Regions from separate parts of the Homo sapiens genome. Here region 1 is linked to region 2. Evidence: promoter capture Hi-C in human tissues and cell types (Jung and others, 2019). All regions are on one chromosome and are shown on one strand. Each heading gives the region's core, a stretch centred on a gene start or on the middle of the fragment in contact. The rest is flanking DNA. Distances are from core to core; before and after follow the strand shown. Region 1 has its middle 29 kb from the start of LINC01925. Region 2 holds the start of CETN1 (centrin 1).

Region 1 (4,722 bases), core at 1,476-3,975, 35 kb before region 2:
CTGCACTCCAGCCTGGGAGACAGAGAGAGACTCCGTCTCGTAAGAAGAAAAAAAAAAGAAAAGAAAAGACGGAGCAAGACCGTCTCAAATAAAAATAAAAATAAAATAAAATAAAAAACTAAATACAAATAAAAAACTTCAAGACAACACTAGCAGAGCATCACAACGAGCACAAGTTGCACACCCACAAAGCCAGTCCTGGGCAGTGGGTCAAACATTGTCCTGTCCCACCAAACTCAGGTGCCGGGGCTTTTCCACTCATGTCCAGAAGCTCACCTTCTGTTTCCTGGTACTTACAAGCATTTCAGGCTTTAAAAGAACAATCAATGATTATATCCACACTGGCAGATGTCAAGACATGAATGACTCAAATGGGCATGAGGACTGCTGTTTTGTAGACCCACATGCCACAGTGAAAACTCTGGCTTTGATGGCTGCTTTTTCTGTGTAGTTTGCTGTGTTCATTAGCAAAGCAATAGTCCCAAAGAACCTTAAGGCAATAGGAACAAAGAAAAACATCTTTGTCACACCCCCCCAGATTCTCTGTAGCACAATTGCAAAGCTTAGCAATTCTGGGCCCTGCCTCTGAGAAGCCACACCCAGCCCACCCAGCCTCACATACTTTGACTTAACAATTCTCGCCTTGTCCCCTTAAAACTTCCTTAGAGGAGGGATGGCACACACCAGCAAATGGCCTTGGAGGGAAGGCTTTTGGAAGATACCTCTTTTAAGAACCTTATTGCAGAATAATGAGTACATATGCAGCATTTGGGCCACAAGACAAACCACTAAGACAACTGCACCTGTGCCACTATGTTACATGTCACTTGAGAAATGAAATGGGACATACCCCCAGCCTTGGGCAGACACAATCTGACACCAAATTGCCAAGTGGCTGGGGTGGCTGTGACTCGGTGGTAGTGCAGGGTGTTGAAACAAGTATTGAACTAGAACCTAAGGGTCCTTCTTTCTTGATTTGACTTAGCCTCTTTCTAGCTGTGTGAGTTTAGATAAGTTGCATAATCTCTCTGGGTTTTAATGGCTTTGTCTCTTGAATTAGAAGGTTGGATTATCTCAACACTAGGATCTTTTCCTGTGAAGAAAGAGAAATTCTACACATATTTTGTTGAAAATATATTAACAGAAGATAGGGTAAGGAAAGGGGAAAGAGTGTGTTCAAGGGAAAAAGATGTTCATTGACATAAATAATGAAATACCCAGGAGGATGAATCATGTCCAGGACACTAGAGGAGACAAGAGAAAGGACTAATATTTAGGGATTGAAATAATTAGCTACAGAGCACGTCAGGGTGGTGGGCCAGGGAGTTGAAGGATGTTTAGGGCAAGCTCTTGGCTTAGTGTAATAGAAGAGGCGGGGAGAAAGGCTGGATGGGATACAGATTTTAATTTCAAACTTCCAAGAGGTTATTACAAACAACTGGAGAGAAGGTTGTTCTAAATTGTGTTTAATGCGAGTATTCTCTTGTTGGCAGTGATCAGCATTTCCTATAAATACCACTTACATCTTATGGAGTGAAGCTGTGACGGGGAACATGTTAGGAGAAGAGGTGAAGAAAGAGCCATGAGGGAAACTTGGAACCTGAGCCCTTGGCATGAAAAATTGGAGAAACTGAGCTCCCCTCCTTTTATTCTTTTTGGAACTTATGGCAAACAATTGCCTTTTGAATGGCTGTGATCTTATTAGTATACATTTTTGCTTTGCTTTTGAGTATTTAATGTGCTCTCCAGAGACTGGTTCAAAGCCTTTAAAATACCACTTGCCAATTTCTCCTTCTTTCTAATTAATACCAAGTGGTTACATTCAAACTGAAGTTTCAAGCTGATTCAACATAAGCAAAATTAAGTGTAGACTTGAGCTTTGGAGCCGGAATGATCTGAAAATCCCTGCTCCACCACTTGCTAGCTGTATGCCTTAGGAAAATCATAGAACCTATCAGAATTTCAAATGTATCTTCTTTAGCATGAGAATTGTTATGATTATTGAGACAACATCTAACAGTTCTTTTTCTTTTTCTTTTTCTTTTTGAGACAGAGTTTTGCTCTATCACTCAGGCTGGAGTGCAGTGATCCAATCATGGCTCACTGCAGCCTTGTCCTCCTGGGCTCAAGCAATCCTCCTGCCTCAGCCTCACATGTAGCTGGGACCACAGGTGCACATCACCATGCCTGGCTAATTTTTGTATTTTTTGTAGAGATGAGGTTTTGCCATGTTCCCCAGGCTGGTCTTGAACTTCTGACTTCAAGCAATCTGCTCACCTTAGCCTCCCGAAGTGCTGGAACTACAGGCGTAAGCCACTGTGCCCAGCCACTAAGACAGTTCTTGAAACGTAGTAGGAACTCAACAAAGAGTAGCTGTGTCTATTCTTCCATCTATACTTCCCTCTCCCTGAGAGGAAAAGCATGTGATTTGGGAGGTGGGAATTACAGTTGACTCTTGAACATCTCAGGTACTAGGGGCGCCGACCCCCGGCACAGTAAAAAATTTGAGTATACCTTCTGACTCCCCAAAACTTAACTACTCATAGCCTACAGTTGATGGAAGCCTTACCGATAACATAAACAGTCTATTAACACATACTTTGTATATGTATTACATACTGTATTTGTACAATAAAGTAAGCTAGAGAAAAGAAAATGTGATTAAGAAAATCATAAGGAAGAGAAAATATCCTTACTACTCATTAAGTGGAAGTGGACCCTCATAAAGGTCTTCATTCTCGTCGTCTTCATATTGAGTAGGCTGAGGAGGAGGAGAACAAGGAGTTGGTCTTGCTGTCTCAGGAGTGGCAGTGGCAGAAGAAAATCCACATATAGGTGGACCTCCACAGTTCAGGCCCATCCTGTTCAAGGGTCAGTGGTATTAGCACACACACTTATGTTGGTCACATTGCCAAGGGTGACCACTCACCCTGCTCCACTTTGTGCCTGCAGATGAAGGCTTGGGTAAGAGCCTCTCCTCAACATCTCAGCTCCTTATGTGGCTCTGGTGGGTGCCTTATGCATTGGCTCGGGCAGTCCCATGTGCCCGCAATTCCCATTCTTCCCTTCCCACCTCACCCCACTTTGGGGTTCCTCCTAGGGGGTAACTGATGCAGAAACTTTCCCTGACCCTGTCACTTACGGGTCCTTTCACAATACCCTGTGCACACAACACAGTAAATTTCCCTTGCTGGTTGTATTGCTATTATCTCTTTACATGTTAGTCTCCCTCACTGGTCTGTGTGTCCTGAGAGCAGGAACATGGTGTCCAGCACATGATAGGCACCCAACACTTACTGAAAGGAAGAATAAAAGTCATCATATCTAAAATGACCTTTTCTCATCAAATTGTGTTTCCTCCTTGCTTTCCCATTTTGCTGATACCAGGCGGTTTTTCTAGAAGCTCTCTCTGAAAACCCCAGTAAACCTTCCCTTGCTTCCTACTATCGCAAATAGGGTCACATGACAATCTTTGGCCAAGAATGGTGGTCAGAGGCAACATTATGTGACTGCTGAGACACACACTCAATTCTTCAATGCAAGGTTGTCACCGTTTCCTCAAAAGCACATACCCTTGCATTCAGCTGGGATAGATGTTTAAATTAAAAGTAGGATAGTACCAACAAAAATGGGAATGGATATTGAGAAGACAACCACAATATCCGGAATATCAATGGCAAAGCAATGGTGATGAGGCATATTCAATTTTGTCTTTGAATACTGTTGCTTTCATATTTCCCTACTTGATATGACACATTTATGTAATTTTGGTTGGTTTCCTGTCTACCAAGGCTGAAATTAGGGGAAATGTGTGGACACAAATAATATATTGGCCTTGGTGCCAAGATATTCAGGATACTTGGTTCCAAATGGGATTTGGCAATATTTGTGAAGTGAGAGCATGGAGTTGACAGCCCCCAAGAATTGAACATTAGTTCATTTTTATGCTGCTGATAAAGACATACCTGAAACTGAGAATAAAAAGAAGTTTCATTGGACTTACAGTTCCATATGGCTGGGGAGGCCTCAGAATCATGGTGGGAGGCAAAAGGCACTTCTTACCTGGTGGCGACAAGAGAAAAATGAGGAAGAAGCAAAAGCAGAAACCCCTGATAAACCCATCAGATCTCGTGAAACTTATTAACTATAACGAGAATAGCACAGGAAAGACAGGGCCCCATGATTCAATTACCTCCCCCTGGGAGCCTTCCACAACAAGTGGGAATTCTGGGAGATACAATTCAATTTGAGATTTGGATAAGGACACAACCAAACCATATCATTCCATCCCTGGCCCCTCCAAATCTCTTGTCCTCACATTTCAAAACAAATCATGCCTTCCCAACAGTCCCCCAAAGCCCTAACTCATTTCAGCATTAACCCAAAAGTCCACAGTCCAAAGTCTCACCTGAGACAAGGCAAGTCCCTTCCACCTAAGAGCCTGTAAAATCAAAAGCAAGCTAGTTACTTCCTAGATACACGAGGATACAGGTATTGGGTAAACACAGCCATTCCAAATTGGAGAAATTGGCCAAACAAAGGGGTTACAGGGCCCATGCAAGTCCAAAATCCAGCAGGGCAGACAAATTTTTAAGGTCCAAAATGATCTCTTTTGACTCCAGGTTTCATATCCGGGCCATGCTGATGCAAGAGGTGGGTTCCAATGGTCTTGGGCAGCTCCACTCCTGTGGCTTTGCAGAGTACAGCCTCCCTCCCAGCTAC
Region 2 (5,144 bases), core at 868-3,367:
TACTGGAAGGCAGGAGAGGGGAGGTCCTATGTAAGTTTCCTTGGCCTTTAGAAGAAACCCTGTGTCCAGGCTCTCTGTCAACTAAGTCACATATCGAACTGGGGCAGGTAGTGATATATGGCTAATTAAATGTGCCATGTAAACAATATCTGACCACTAATTTTAAAAAACAGTTTGTAAAACATTCCTGGCATCATTTAATCTTTTGGGGTTTTCACTTGTTGTATTCAGAAGGTATTTTAGGACCAACCTTAATTGTCATGCATTCATTCAACGAATATTTATTAACCTACCTACTGTGTTGTATCCAGCACTGTTTTGTTTTGTTGTTGTTTGTTTTTTTGGGGACAGAATCTCACTCTGTTGCCTAGGGTGGAGTGCAGGGGCACAATATCTGCTCACTGCAACCTCCGCCTCCTGGGTTCAAGCGATTCCCGTGCCTCATACTCCCAAGTAGCTGGGATTACAGTTGTGCGCAGCAACTCTCAGCTAATTTTCGTATTTTTCATAGAGACAGGGTTTCACCTTGTTGGCCAGGCTGGTCTTGAACTCCTGACCTCAGGTGATCCTCCCGCCTTGGCCTCCCAAATTACTGGGATTACAGGTGTGACCCACTGCACCCAGCCATAAAACTCTTTAACACAAACTCTTCAAAGTGACATCTTTTGTAACCTTCATAGGTTACAAAAGGTATTGATATATTAATAGATTGAGATTTGATTGCGGGGGGGCGGGGCAGGGGGAGAATGCTAAAAAAATAAGTCAGCTTTCTTTTCTGTAACTATTTAAAAGAATGCAAAGTAATTCTACAGGCAATTCCTTGGTGGGCTTATTTGGTAATTTTTTTTTTCTTTTCCATTTTCCTCTTGCTCTTTGGTTTGTAGGAGAACCGCTTTATTCCCAGGAGGCAATTTTGAGTCCCAACATGTCCTGCATCATCTCCTGTGCCCATTGCCAAAGGAAGGCGACCAGAGCGTGGGTTTCAGCACAGCTCTGATTGGATGATAAGCAAGGAGAGTAATGTGCTGCTAGGAGGTTAGAGAAAAGAAAATACTAGAATATACCAGAATGTAGTATTTCCACTTCCCTCCCTCCAAATCAAAAGCCTCATGAATGAAATTATGACCATTATTCAAGTGCAATTATACTGAGTATGTAAAATGGAAACACTGAAAGTAAATCATACATTTGGATATTACATTTCATATTTGAGAACATGCCAGAAACATTGTATTATTGTTGAGTGTAATGTCAGGAGACAAACTTCTACGCATTTTATACATAAATTTTTCCATTTTCTCTGTTTCCCATTTATGTCAAGTTGAACACATGGTATGACTTTTAATATTCTCTCTTCCTTCTCCTTCCCCACATTGAATGTCAAGTGATCACACTCAATCTTGATTATCCTAAATTTACCCTTAGGACCTGTCACCTCATTGGGTGTTGCCGCTAGAACAAGAGGGTTTTTTAAATGGTATAAAAAGGAGAGGCCCGGCTTGGTAGCTCATGCCTGTAATTCTAGCACTTTGGGAGGCTGGGGCGGGAAATCCCTTGATCCCAGGAGTTTCAGACCAGCCTGGGCAACATGGTGAGACTCTGTCTCTATAAAAAAAAAAATTTTTTTTTTTAATTTAGCTGGGTGTGGTGGCATGCCCTGTAGTCTCAGCTACTATGGAGGCTGAGGTGGGAGGATCACTTGATCCTGGAAGGTGGAGGCTGCAGTAAGCTGAGTGGCACCAGTGCACTCCTGTCAAAAGAGAGAGAGGAGAGAGAGAGAGAGAGAGAGGAAGAGTCCCTAAAGAAACCTATAAAACTGGGGTCTTATGGATGCTAGCACATATCTTGGAAAGAACTGCCAGCGCCAGTGGATTACAGAAGACAACTGTGGCTACAGGCTGTTCTTGCCAGCTCAGGCGTCAACTCGTGGAAACCGGTTAATGACCCGAGGGGACAGCGGATTCTCGCCTAAGCAAGATCCCGCAGATGGGAGGGCGTAGGAAGAGGTTCCCCGGGCCGGCTCCAGGCCCCAGCGGGCGTGGGCGTTGGCAGTGAGCGAGGGGTGGTCCCGCGCCGCGCCGGCGGGGGGCGCCCGAATGAGAGCGCGGGGCGGTGCCGTTGGGACCACGGCGGCCAGAGCGGCAGGATGGCTTCCGGCTTCAAGAAGCCCAGCGCTGCCTCCACCGGCCAAAAGAGAAAGGTGGCACCTAAGCCCGAGCTCACTGAGGATCAGAAGCAAGAAGTTCGGGAAGCATTTGACCTCTTCGACGTGGACGGAAGTGGGACCATCGACGCGAAGGAGCTGAAGGTGGCCATGAGAGCGCTGGGCTTCGAACCCAGGAAGGAAGAGATGAAGAAAATGATCTCCGAGGTGGACAGGGAAGGCACGGGGAAGATCAGCTTCAATGACTTCCTGGCCGTGATGACGCAGAAGATGTCCGAGAAGGACACCAAAGAAGAAATCCTGAAGGCCTTCAGGCTCTTTGATGACGATGAGACCGGGAAGATCTCGTTCAAAAACCTGAAGCGTGTGGCCAACGAGCTGGGGGAGAACCTCACGGATGAGGAGCTGCAGGAGATGATCGACGAAGCTGATCGGGATGGGGACGGCGAAGTGAACGAGGAGGAGTTCCTTCGGATCATGAAGAAGACCAGCCTTTACTGAAGTCGGTTCAGAAGCTAAAGTGACTCTCTGGGTTGCCTGCTTCCATTTTGTGAAACCTTAGAGGACAGCGGCTGCCTGTCCCTTCTTCACCCCCTCACCCCCATAATTTGTCTAGATCTATTTCCATATCTCTAGTTCAATAATAGAATTTGAAAGATGCTTGTAATGTGAGTTTTGGGTTTTAATTCTCAAGAGTCAACCTGGAGCACATGAGGTTAAACAAAGGGCCCTGAAGTTTGAGTGCGCCCTCCATTTGCCCTGTGCTGAACTTGCTGTTCATCTGTTGATCTGGAGGCAGGACAGCTTCTGGGACACACAAAAATGTGGTTCCCTTTGTCACTTCTTTGGTGGTCTTAAATTATCTTGCTTCATATATCATTCCTTAAATTCCAGTCATTGTTCCAGCATAATGAGATGGAATCTGCCAGTAGATTTGCCTAGCCTGTCCACTTAGCTGAATACCAGTTTGAAGGAAAACAGGGTGGCCACTTACAAACTTACGGAGCTCAGGACAGATAATCTTATAAAGAATAGACTTGCTTGGGTGGTAGTACGTTGTGCAATTTTGACTATTCACTGGCTTTATACCTGCAAATGATTCTTCGTTCATGTGTAAATTGTCCACCATGGGTTTATCTAGGGCTAGTATGTATACCTGGGCTACAGAATAAAAATAAAATCTAATACTGGCCCAAGCAAAGTATAATTTGCTTAAGAGGTTACGCTAACAAACGATTTTGAGTAAATATTTACAAATGTAGGATCTTAGTTTAGGAAATTATAACAAATACCTTAATATAACATTTTAAGCTACTTATAGTCCTTGGAAATAGCAACAAATATCTTAGTTATTGGACTATTATAACCTTAGTCATCTTATTACTGCTTGATTATGAGACACTCTCCCTGCTAATCCTTAGAACATCTTGGTTCTTGGTACTTGACTTTTAGCCCCTCTGACATATAGTTGATGTCAGAGTGTCTGGCATTTCAGTAGTGCTCTATTTTACAAATCCCAGTAAACTGCTCCACTGTGGCTTGTTTATGTGTTAATACTGCTTGTTTTCTGTTATAAATTATTTTTTGCTTTGGAGTAAGATATCATCATTTTGCATAGCTACAAATCTGAAGTTAAAGAAAATTTTAAAAATGTAATTGTGGGAAAATAACAAATAGATCTGCTGAGATGGAGGCTTTGACTAATGTTTTAATAACAGGCAACAAAACAAAGAGGCAGGATATTTTGGTCACAACTAAACCTAAATTAAATCCTCATACAAAGCCCCATTAAGATAAATGCTCAAATTCTGGGAACATTTCACTTGCTTTGCCAGCAATTTTACCCTTCAGAGGGTGTGGATCTAATCAGGGGAACAAACTACCCTGGGCTTAATTCTCATTAACAGGGACTAATTTGTCAAAGCGGCAGTACTAGCTGAAGTGATGGGTATGGAAGCATTCACTGTGAGGATTTTGCTGAGGTGCCTGGCACAGGGTAGGGGAACTCACCCAGGCTGCAAGATGCTAACAGTTCAGGTTCAAGGTCTTAGTGTGGACTAAGGTGCAGTCAGGATGGGAACAGGTGCAACTTGGGCCAACATCAGTATGAAGGGCCTGATCTGAGGGCAGGGGAAGGAGGGGGCATTCTGGGAAGCAAGAGTTCCTGGTATCCTGTTGACCAGAGTCTTGGCCCAAGGATCAACGTATGAATTAAAGTAGAAATACCAGAAACAAAGAAAGTTGGCAGAAACTAGGAGAAGCAGAGTCTCAGCCAACTGGACTGGGCTCAGCCTTGGCTACTGGCCCGGCAGATGATAGAAGAGAAAACCAGGAACCCAGGCTGAAGCCCAGTGGTTGGGCTGGCCACACACCATGCATAGCCTTAAAGGGGTGGCCTAAGGGCATGGTCCGCTCCAAAAAAGGAAAGGGGGCCCCAGAATATTTCTGAATCCCACTCACTGCCAGGGAAGAACCTCTCAATTCACTCAATAGTGCATTCTCCTGCTTCTCAATAGGCTAATACTCTAGAGAATATGGGGACAAGGGGAGGAGGGTCTAGTGGAACAGGTCTAAACTGGCGTTTGAATTTTAAGATAAGTTAATCATACATTGGCTGGGTCAGCCATGTCTCTTAGTCTTTACAAAAGTAGAACACAAAAAAATTCAATGGAAATCTACAGACACCTATTTGCAGATGAGGAAACACGGCTATGAAGATTGGGAAGATTGGGAAGAACTGGCCAGGTGTGGTGGCTCACGCCTGTAATCCCAGCACTTTGGGAGGCCGAGGCTGGTGGATCACTTGAGGTCAGGAGTTGGAGACCAGCCTGGGCAACATAGTAAAACCCTGTCTCTACTCAAATTACAAAAATCAGCAGGGCGTTGTGGTGCCCACCTGTAATCCCAGCTATGCAGGAGGCTGAGGCAGGACAATCACTTGAACCTGGTAGGCGGAGGTTGCAGTGAGCCAAAATCACGC

Evidence for each region. Contacts are between HindIII fragments. The study calls those that stand out against the background at their distance.
Region 1: a fragment that was not itself captured here is called in contact with the fragment with the promoter of CETN1 in region 2 in 2 of the 25 tissues and cell types used here (IMR-90 fibroblasts and neural progenitor cells).

The regions. Positions count from the first base shown.
Region 1 is chr18:542,363-547,084 of GRCh38, forward strand. No RefSeq gene overlaps it. Among named protein-coding and RNA genes, the nearest start is that of LINC01925, 29 kb to the left of the region's middle. The HindIII fragment of the contact is 7,899 bases long and covers 1-4,722 here.
Region 2 is chr18:578,263-583,406 of GRCh38, forward strand. CETN1 (centrin 1) reads left to right here and starts at 2,118. Exons shown (of 1, transcript NM_004066.3): 1 at 2,118-3,852. The coding sequence starts at 2,147. The coding sequence ends at 2,665. The HindIII fragment of the contact is 12,122 bases long and covers 1-5,144 here.